Regions from separate parts of the Homo sapiens genome. Here region 2 is linked to region 1. The links are contacts of gene promoters, found by promoter capture Hi-C in human tissues and cell types (Jung and others, 2019). All regions are on one chromosome and are shown on one strand. Each heading gives the region's core, a stretch centred on a gene start or on the middle of the fragment in contact. The rest is flanking DNA. Distances are from core to core; before and after follow the strand shown. Region 1 holds the start of RASGRP2 (RAS guanyl releasing protein 2). Region 2 overlaps FERMT3 (FERM domain containing kindlin 3).

Evidence for each region. The method cuts DNA at HindIII sites, captures the fragments that hold promoters and counts their contacts. A contact is called where the count stands out against the background at its distance.
Region 2: a fragment that was not itself captured here is called in contact with the fragment with the promoter of RASGRP2 in region 1 in 2 of the 25 tissues and cell types used here (adrenal gland and spleen).

Annotation. Positions count from the first base shown.
Region 1 is chr11:64,742,519-64,746,542 of GRCh38, forward strand. It overlaps RASGRP2 (RAS guanyl releasing protein 2), which reads right to left and starts at 1,624. Exons shown (of 17, transcript NM_001098671.2): 1 at 1,485-1,624; 2 at 276-419. The coding sequence starts at 348. PYGM (glycogen phosphorylase, muscle associated) reads right to left here. Exons shown (of 20, transcript NM_005609.4): 20 at 3,880-4,024. RefSeq lists silencers at 291-620, 931-980, 1,141-1,190, 2,181-2,290, 2,541-2,740 and 1 more. The HindIII fragment of the contact is 18,641 bases long and covers 1-4,024 here.
Region 2 is chr11:64,211,194-64,215,566 of GRCh38, forward strand. FERMT3 (FERM domain containing kindlin 3) reads left to right here. Exons shown (of 15, transcript NM_031471.6): 5 at 82-250; 6 at 452-554. Among named protein-coding and RNA genes, the nearest start is that of FERMT3, 6.7 kb to the left of the region's middle. The HindIII fragment of the contact is 4,882 bases long and covers 1-3,726 here.

The DNA.
Region 1 (4,024 bases), core at 374-2,873:
GGAGACAGATAATGCCCCTCAAGTGTCAGAGTCCGGGACCCGGCCCTCCCTTCGCCGCCGCTGGGGAAGGCTAGAGAAGGGAAACCTCATCTGTCTGAAGGGCGTGCATCTCTCTGCCCTGCGTTGCGGAGGAGGCTTTCGTTAAAGAGACTGCACGCTGCGGAGCAGGGTGGGTCCGGGTCAGGGCTGTGCCCTGGACTGTGCCTGGGAGGCAGGGACCCGGGCTCAGACTCGGGGCTAGGCTCAGGCTCCGTGTGCCCTCCCGAGCCACTCACCGAAGGCTTCGATGCACCCGCGGAGCAGCTCCTCCACCGTGCAGCCCTTGTCCAGGTCCAGGGTGCCTGCCATGGCCGCCGGCGCGGGGTGGGCTGGGCCCAGGCTGCGCTCCGGGAGCCTCCCACCGGGCTCGGACCGAACCCCTGTCCCGGGAGAGGCAGAGCGGGAGTCTGCGGAGTCGCGGGCGGGGGAGCGGCCCCGCGGGCAGAAACGGGGCGGGGCGGGCACGCCCCCTGCTGGACAGGGGCGGAGTTGTCCCCCGCGGCCACTCCCGGGGTTAAACGGTCTGGCCCGGGATGGTGCAACCCGCCAGTTGGGAAACGGACCCGCAGAGAGGCTTCCGGCCCACCCTCGGAGTCGCGGGAAGGCCGAGGGGCTTCACGAGGATGGGGACGAACCAAGATCCCAGGACTGGCTGGCGCCCAGCCCCCCGCAGGGCGCCTTCTCCTCGCGCCCTCTCCCCAGAGGCACCTGCAGCACCCCGCAGCTCGGCTCTGCGCCCCTCCCGCTTCCCTCCCTCCACAGCCTCCCTTCCCCCGCAGGGTTATTTTGGGAACCCAGAGCCTGAGGGGACCTCGGAGGAATTTCTCCCTGGTATGGGAGGTGGGGGGAGAGAACCCAGGCGTCCTGCCCGCCTCGCCCCCTCCCGGGAGCCCAGGAAGGCGAGGCGGGGCTGCGGCAGCCCCCAGGGGGCCTGCCCTAGGGGAGGCGGACTGGATGGGAGAGGAACATTCCTGGGGCGGGGGGAGCCCGCTGCGGCCAGGAGGCGTCAGCGGGAAGCCTGAGCCTGGGAACTGAGCGCTCCCAGGCCACCTCCGCAAAGGTCCCAGGGGTCCCGGCTCAGCTTGTCCACAGGCCCTCTTCCTCCCTATCCCCGGCTCCTGACCCTGGCCCCGGCCCCGCACAGGCGAACTGTGAGCGCGCACGGAGCAGGGTGTCCAGAGGGGGGCGCTCGCGCCAAGGGTGGCCGGTGGGTGCATGACACCATTAGCAACTCCGGTCACTGGCGGGGTCATACGCACCCTGGCAGGGGCAAACACTCCACACCCAAGTTATTCGTCGGAGGCCGGGGACCTAAGTGGAGGTGCAGGCGTCCGCACTTACACGCACCGGGCCACAGGCACCGGCCTCCCATCCTCCGTCTCTCACACACAATGGCACCCACACCCTGTGCACACCTGCACGAAGAAACCCTCAGGCACACATACCCAGCTCGTCCACCCCAGAATGCAAACCCGCGGACGAGGTCGCCTCCTGGACGTGCTGTTCACTTGAGCCAGGCCAGCCTTGAGTCCCGCGGCCACACAGGCGCTGACATCCTCACACGTGTGCACACACGCAAGGCAGTGCCTCTCCACGCATGTACACTCCCACACACATGCACACACCCCCATGGGTGCGCACGCCCATTCCGTCGCCCCCCTCCCATTTGCGGTGCAGGGCCCGCCCTGCGGCCCCAGCTCCCTGACTCCCCTCACTCCCAGATTTTGGCAGAGCCTTGCCCCACGGAAAGGTACCCCGGCCCTACACATACTCACTCCCCCAGGCTGGAGGACAGGGGAGCTCCTGTACGGAGTTCTCAGGCGGACTTTTCCTAAGAGCCACCCAGAGCCGTCCCCGCCTGGCTCTACCGCTTCCTCGTGTGACCTTGAGAATCACTTGGCCTCTGGGAGCCTCAATTTTCTCATCTGCCAAATGGGGGTACGCGGGGGAGGGCCCCGCTGGAAGGTGGCTGGGAAAAGCTGGGTGCACCGTGGAGGTCCTCCGCCCTCCGGGGATCCAGCGCGCCTTAGCTCTCGTGGCCGCTGCCCCCTCTCCCAGACCCGGGCCGCAGACTCCCCACCCGCTCGCCGCCCCCAGCCCGCCCGCGCCGCCCTGGGCGGGGGGGGAGTCGCTGGGGGCCGCGCCCTCCTTCGCCTGGCGCCCCGCCCGCGCTCGCCCACTCACTCTTGGGACCTGCCGCAAGGAGCCCGCACCGGCCTGGCCGACCCCACCTCCGTGCGCTCCCGCCCGCCGGCCTCGCTGCGGCTGCGGCTCCCGCCCGCTCTCCACGCCGCGGCCCCGCTCCCCGCCGCCCCGCCCCCGCCCCCGCGCCAGGCTGCCCCCTCCCCCCTCCGCCCCTGCGCGGAGCTCCGCACCGCCGGCTGCGCCACCCCCACCGGGGGCTCCCTCTCGCCCCGCACGCGGCGGTCCCTGCGGCAGCTTAACCCCTCCCCTGCCGCGCCGCCCGGGAGGCCAGGGCCGCGGGCGGGGGGCTGCGCCACTAGCTGCCCCGAGGGCGGGCGACCGGAGGCCCCGCCGCCCGGGACGCGGAGGGGGGACCGAAACGAAGAGCCCCTCCCCCAACCGCGGACGCCCCAGTGCCCCCCGCCCTGCCTGGGTGTCGGGCGGAGGAAGCCGGGAGGGGCAGGAAGCGGACTGCGGTGGGGAAGGGGCGCCCCGCCCAGCCCCCAGCTCGGGTTCCTGTTTTCGAGACAAACCGTTCCCATGGGGCTAACCCGGCCCGGGACCGGGCGTCTTCCTGCAGGCAGCGGGTGGCACAGGCCTAGTGGAGGTCGGGGGCGTGGGGACAGCTGGTCCTTGAGATAGTCTGGGGGATGGGCTAGGACAAGATGGGAATATTTTGGGGAGAGGGACCTGTGGGGAGCGAGGAATGAAATCGTGGCTATCTGGAGACGCGGCCTTGATGTCTGGGAATGGGGGCGGGGGGCCCAGTTCACACAGGAGGAACGGGGCCCCGGAAGCCTGGCTCCCCACAGGGTCGAATGGAAAGGGGCAGCCGCATGTGGCGGTGGGTTCTCCGCAGCTCGGAGACTGGAGACCTGGATGCCTGGCCAACAGGGAGGAACTTGGGAGGGGCAGCCGCAGGCGGTTGGGGTCCCCACTAGCCGGGCCTAGGAGAGCGGGTAACGGTTTCCGACCATTTGGCTTCAGACACACTCACTGTGAAACCACCGACCCCAAACCTCCCTTCCGAGGCGTGCCCCTCCCAGCCTTGGGGCGGGGGATCCAGGACCGCCCCCGCACCTCAGTCTTGGTAATGTAAGACTTAGAAACAGGACCTTTCTGTTCCTCAGTTTCCCCATAATGAGGGCCTAGACTAGGCGGTCTGCGAGTGTTCCCTGCCGTAACACTCCCCCGACTTTGGATCCAGTGTAGCCACCTGCTAAGAGACCCTTAAACGCCGCAGTAGGGCGGGGCTAAGGGCGGAGCCAAGAAGGCGCCGAGCATCCTCTGCTTCCTCCCCCTCCTGGGTCCTGCCCTCGACAGCGCGGATCCTCCGTGGTCCGGGAAGCCTCAGCCCAAGTCCCGGCTCCCAGCCCCGGTGGGCCCCACCCAGGCAGACGCCCCGCCCCCGGCCAGCGAGGCTGGCCGCTGACCTAGTATGGACACGGCACTGGGAAGAGAGGCGTGGAGGGTGACGCCAGGAAAGGGGCTGGAGAGGCCTAGGCCCCGCCCCCACGGGTCGCCCCCTCCACCTCCCATCACCGTCCCGCCGTGGGACGCACCTGCCGAGGGTGGAGGATAAGGGGGTGACTGCGCGGCTGCTGTTGAGCCCGCCAAGAGCTAAAAATATTTCCCAACAAAGAGGAGTAAGGAGGCTCCCAAGGAGAATGAATTTATTAGGGAGTGGGTGCAGTTGGTCAGACCCCATAAATAGGAGGGGACCGGGAGCCCGAGGACGGAAGGGGGCCCGTGTCCTTAGTCACGCTGGACACTGGGACATTGAGAGTGGGGAAAATGAGGG
Region 2 (4,373 bases), core at 36-2,535, 530 kb before region 1:
CTGGGGGGTTGGGGGCAGGGGCCGGCCCGTGAGTCCCAGCCCTGGGGGACAGGCCTGGTTGACTCCCAACCTGCACTCCAGGCGTGGCACCTGCACTGTTCCGGGGGATGCCAGCTCACTTCTCGGACAGCGCCCAGACTGAGGCCTGCTACCACATGCTGAGCCGGCCCCAGCCGCCACCCGACCCCCTCCTGCTCCAGCGTCTGCCACGGCCCAGCTCCCTGTCAGACAAGACCCAGCTCCACAGCAGGTGCACCCAGGAGCCACGCCCCCTGTGTCAGGGCTCCCCCACCCAGGATCCACCCCCTGTCCCGTGTCTGTGCCCACCCCAGATCCACACTTCGTTTCCAGGCCTTTTCTCTGTGTGTGCTTGTCCCCCCAGCCCAGCCCCCCTCCCCACCCCACGGCCGTACCTGGCGCAGCCCTGACTGCTGCTTCTGCCGCGGCCCAGGTGGCTGGACTCGTCGCGGTGTCTCATGCAGCAGGGCATCAAGGCCGGGGACGCACTCTGGCTGCGCTTCAAGTACTACAGCTTCTTCGATTTGGATCCCAAGGTGGGTCGGGGCAGGGAGAAAGCGGGCCTCAGGTCCATGAGATGTGGAGACCTAGGGCCTGGGGTATGGGCTCTGGGATGTTAGTGACTTGTAGTGGCCTGTCCGTCTGCCCGTTTGTCCATCCACACCTTTGTTTACTGACCCCACAAACACCCACTGAAACTCATCTACTCACCTCAGCATCAGGCCAGGTCCTGGGCCCCGGGCAGATGCTGAAGCGGATGAAGACCAGTAAGTCTCAGTGCCTGTTTCCCAGGGAGCTGTCAGGGAGGAAGCTAAGACCCACAGATCCTCATAGACAGTGTGTGTGTGGGTGCCCCTGAGAAGTCTGGGGCTCAGGTGGGAGAGGCCCAAGCCTGGGAGCTCTGGGAAGGCTTCCTGGAGGGGGCACCATTAGGGACTGCAGGACCTGGGGGTGGGTGAGGAAGGAAGCTTTGCAGGGTGGCCCCTCTGTGCCCTGTTCACTCTTCCTCCCTTCCTCCATTGGCAACCAACATGCTCCAGGCAAAATGCTCCATGCAATGTGCTTCGCGCACATCTCAAAAACTTCCCAGAAGTCCACAGGTTGCTCTTTCTACCTGTAGGCCCCACCTCTCTGCCCCCTTTCTCTGCAAAACATCGTAGTTGTCTGAACGCTTGCTCCGCAGAATCCCACTTCTTGCTTCCAAGCTTTCTCTGGGTGCTGTTCGACTCCCTCTCACTCCTTGGCCATGGCTATTCTATATATTTTGACACCATCCACACGTGAGAAGTGCACCTGCTGAGGTGGCCACGTCTCCAGGCTATCTGTTCCCTGGCCATGTCCCACCCGCTTCTTACTTGACCACTTACTTGCAGCATAGACACCACCCCGACCACTCCTCCAGAATATCTTCCTCCTGAAGCCTCCTGTACACTTGCTTGGGGGGTGGCCTCTCCCCAAGCCACTCTGCCAGGCTCTGTGATGTTCCCTCCTCCTCTCCATGGCCTCTCGGTGTTGGTGAGCCCCAGGCTCTGCCCCAGGCTCTGCTCTGGGCCTCTGCTCTCTCCTCTCCTTCTCTCAGTCATCTCCAGTCTTGTGGATTTCAATACCATCTCCACACTCTCTCCCAGCTGATCATCTCCAGCTCAGATGTCTCTCTCCTAAGCTTTATTTATTTATATATTTATTTATTTTTATTTTTTGAGACACAGTCTTGCTCTGTTGTCCAGACTGGAGGGCAGTAGTGTTATCCCGGCTAACTGCAGCCTGGACCTCCCAGGGTCATGTGATCCTTAAGCCTCAGCTCCCCAAGTAGCTGGGACGATAGGCGTGTACTATACCTGGCTAATTTTTTTTTTTTTTTTGACATGGAGTCTTGCTCTGTTGCCCAAGCTAGAGTGCAGTGGTGCAATCTCGGCTCACTGCAACCTCTTCCTCCTGGGTTCAAGCAATTCTCCTGGGATTACAGGTGTGGGCCTGGCTAATTTTTGTATTTTTTTAGTAGAGATGGAGTTTCACCATATTGGTCAGGCTGGTCTCGAACTCCTGACCTCAGGTGATCCACCTGCCTCAGCCTCCCAAAGTGCTGGGGTTATAGGAGTGTATTTTTTTAGTAGAGATGGAGTTTCACCATATTGGTCAGGCTGGTCTCGAACTCCTGACCTCAGGTGATCCACCCGCCTCAGCCTCCCAAATTGCTGGGGTAATAGGAGTGTATTTTTTTAGTAGAGATGGAGTTTCACCATATTGGTCAGGCTGGTCTCGAACTCCTGACCTCAGGTGATCCACCCGCCTCAGCCTCCCAAAGTGCTGGGGTTATAGGAGCGAGCCACTGCGCCTGGCCTAATTTTTTTTTTTTTTTTTTTGAGATGGAGTCTTGCTCTTGTTGCCCAGGCTGGAGTGCAATGACGTGATCTCAGGTCATCACAACCTCCGCCTCCTGGGTTCAAGCAGTTCTCCTGCCTCAGCCTCCCGAGTAGCTGGGATTACAGGCGTTGAGCCACCATGCCCAGCTAATTTTGTATTTTTAGTAGAGATGGACGGGGTTTCTCCATGTTGGTCAGACTGGTCTCGAACTCCTGACCTCAGGTGATTTGCCCACTTTGGCCTCCCAAAGTGCTGGGATTACAGGCGTGAGCCACGGCGTCGGGCCAGCTGTGCCTTTTTATTCTAGTGTTTTCTTCTCTATGACATATTTCCACTTCTTTGTTTTGCCATTTCACACATTATCTATTGACTTTGTAAGAAGGTTTCACTGTCTTACATTCTCTTCCCTGCCCACACAATACACACATTTCCTTGCCTCTTTCTAAGTGAGTAGTGTCTGTAGTCTTTGGTTAAAACAATGTGATATGGCTGTAAATAGTAACACATATAAATAGTGTTCCTAGTTAAGCCACAGAGTAACTATGATTATTTTTTCCCTTTTTGCTCAAATGGTTTTGAAGTTCATAATTGCCTTTTTTTTTTTTTTTTTTGAGATGAGTTTTGCTCTTGTTGCCCAGGCTGGAGTACAATGGCACAATCTCAGCTCACTGCAACCTCCACCTCGCGGATTCAAGCGATCTCCTGCTTCAGCCTCCCAAGTAGCTGGGACTGCAGGCACGCGCCACCATGCCCAGCTAACTGTATTTATTTATCTATTTTTGTTGTTGAGATGGAGTCTCGCTCTTGTTGCCCAGGCTAGAGTGCAATGGTGTGATCTTGGCTCACTGCAACCTCCGCCTCCCGGATTCAAGCGATTCTCCTGCCTCAGCCTCCCTAGTAGCTGGGATTACAGGCGCCCACCACCACGCCTGGCTAATTTTTTGTATTTTTAGTAGAGATGGGGTTTCACCATGTTGGTCAGGCTGGTCTCAAACTCCTGCCCTCAGGCGATCCACCTGCCTCAACCTCCCAATATGCTGGGATTACAGGCGTGAGCCACCATGCCTGGCCTACACTTTTCTTTCTTATTTTTCGGTTCTTTTTCTTTCTGTGTCCTACTCTCCGGAGACCTCTTCAACTTATCTTCTAAAATATCTATTGAATTTTTAATTTCTGTAACTATATTTTTAAGTTCCAAGAGCTCTTGTTTTTTGAGTGTTCTTTTATAGGGTTTTTTTTTTTTTGAGAGGGAGTTTCATTCTTGTTGCCCAGGCTGGAGTGCAATGGCGTGATCTCGGCCCACTGCAACCTCTGCCTCCTGGGTTCACGCGATTCTCCTGCCTCAGCCTCCCACATAGCTGGGATTACAGATGCCCACCGCCACCATGCCCAGCTAATTTCTTCTTGTATTTTGAGTAGAGATGGGATTTCACCATGTTGGCCAAGCTGGTCTCGAACTCCTGACCTCAGGTGATCCACCTGCCTTGGCCTCCCAAAGTGCTGGGATTACAGGCATGAGCCACCACGCCCGGCTCAGCTTATTTTTAACAAATGTGTATGGTTGTGCAACCATCACCACAATCCAGTTTTAGAACATTTCCACTGCCCCAGACAAGCACTGATTGCACGATGCCCATTTGCAGTCATTCCTCCTCCCACACCCCGACCACCACTGATCTGCTTTCCATGTGGCTTTAATTTACATTTCCCTGATGACTAATAAAGTTGAGTCCCTTTTCATAAGGCTATTAGCCATCTGGATATCCTGCTTTGTGAGGTTTCTGTTCAAACATTTTGACAATTGTCATATTGAGTCGTTTGTCTTTTTCTTATTGATTTGTAGGAGTTCTTTATATATTCTGGATATGAGCACTTTGCCAGATAAATACATTGTGAATATATTTTCCCCCTCTGTGCTTTGCCTTTTAATTGTCTGAATGGTTTCTTTTCATAAACAGCAGCTCTTTATTTTAATAGAACCAAATTTATAT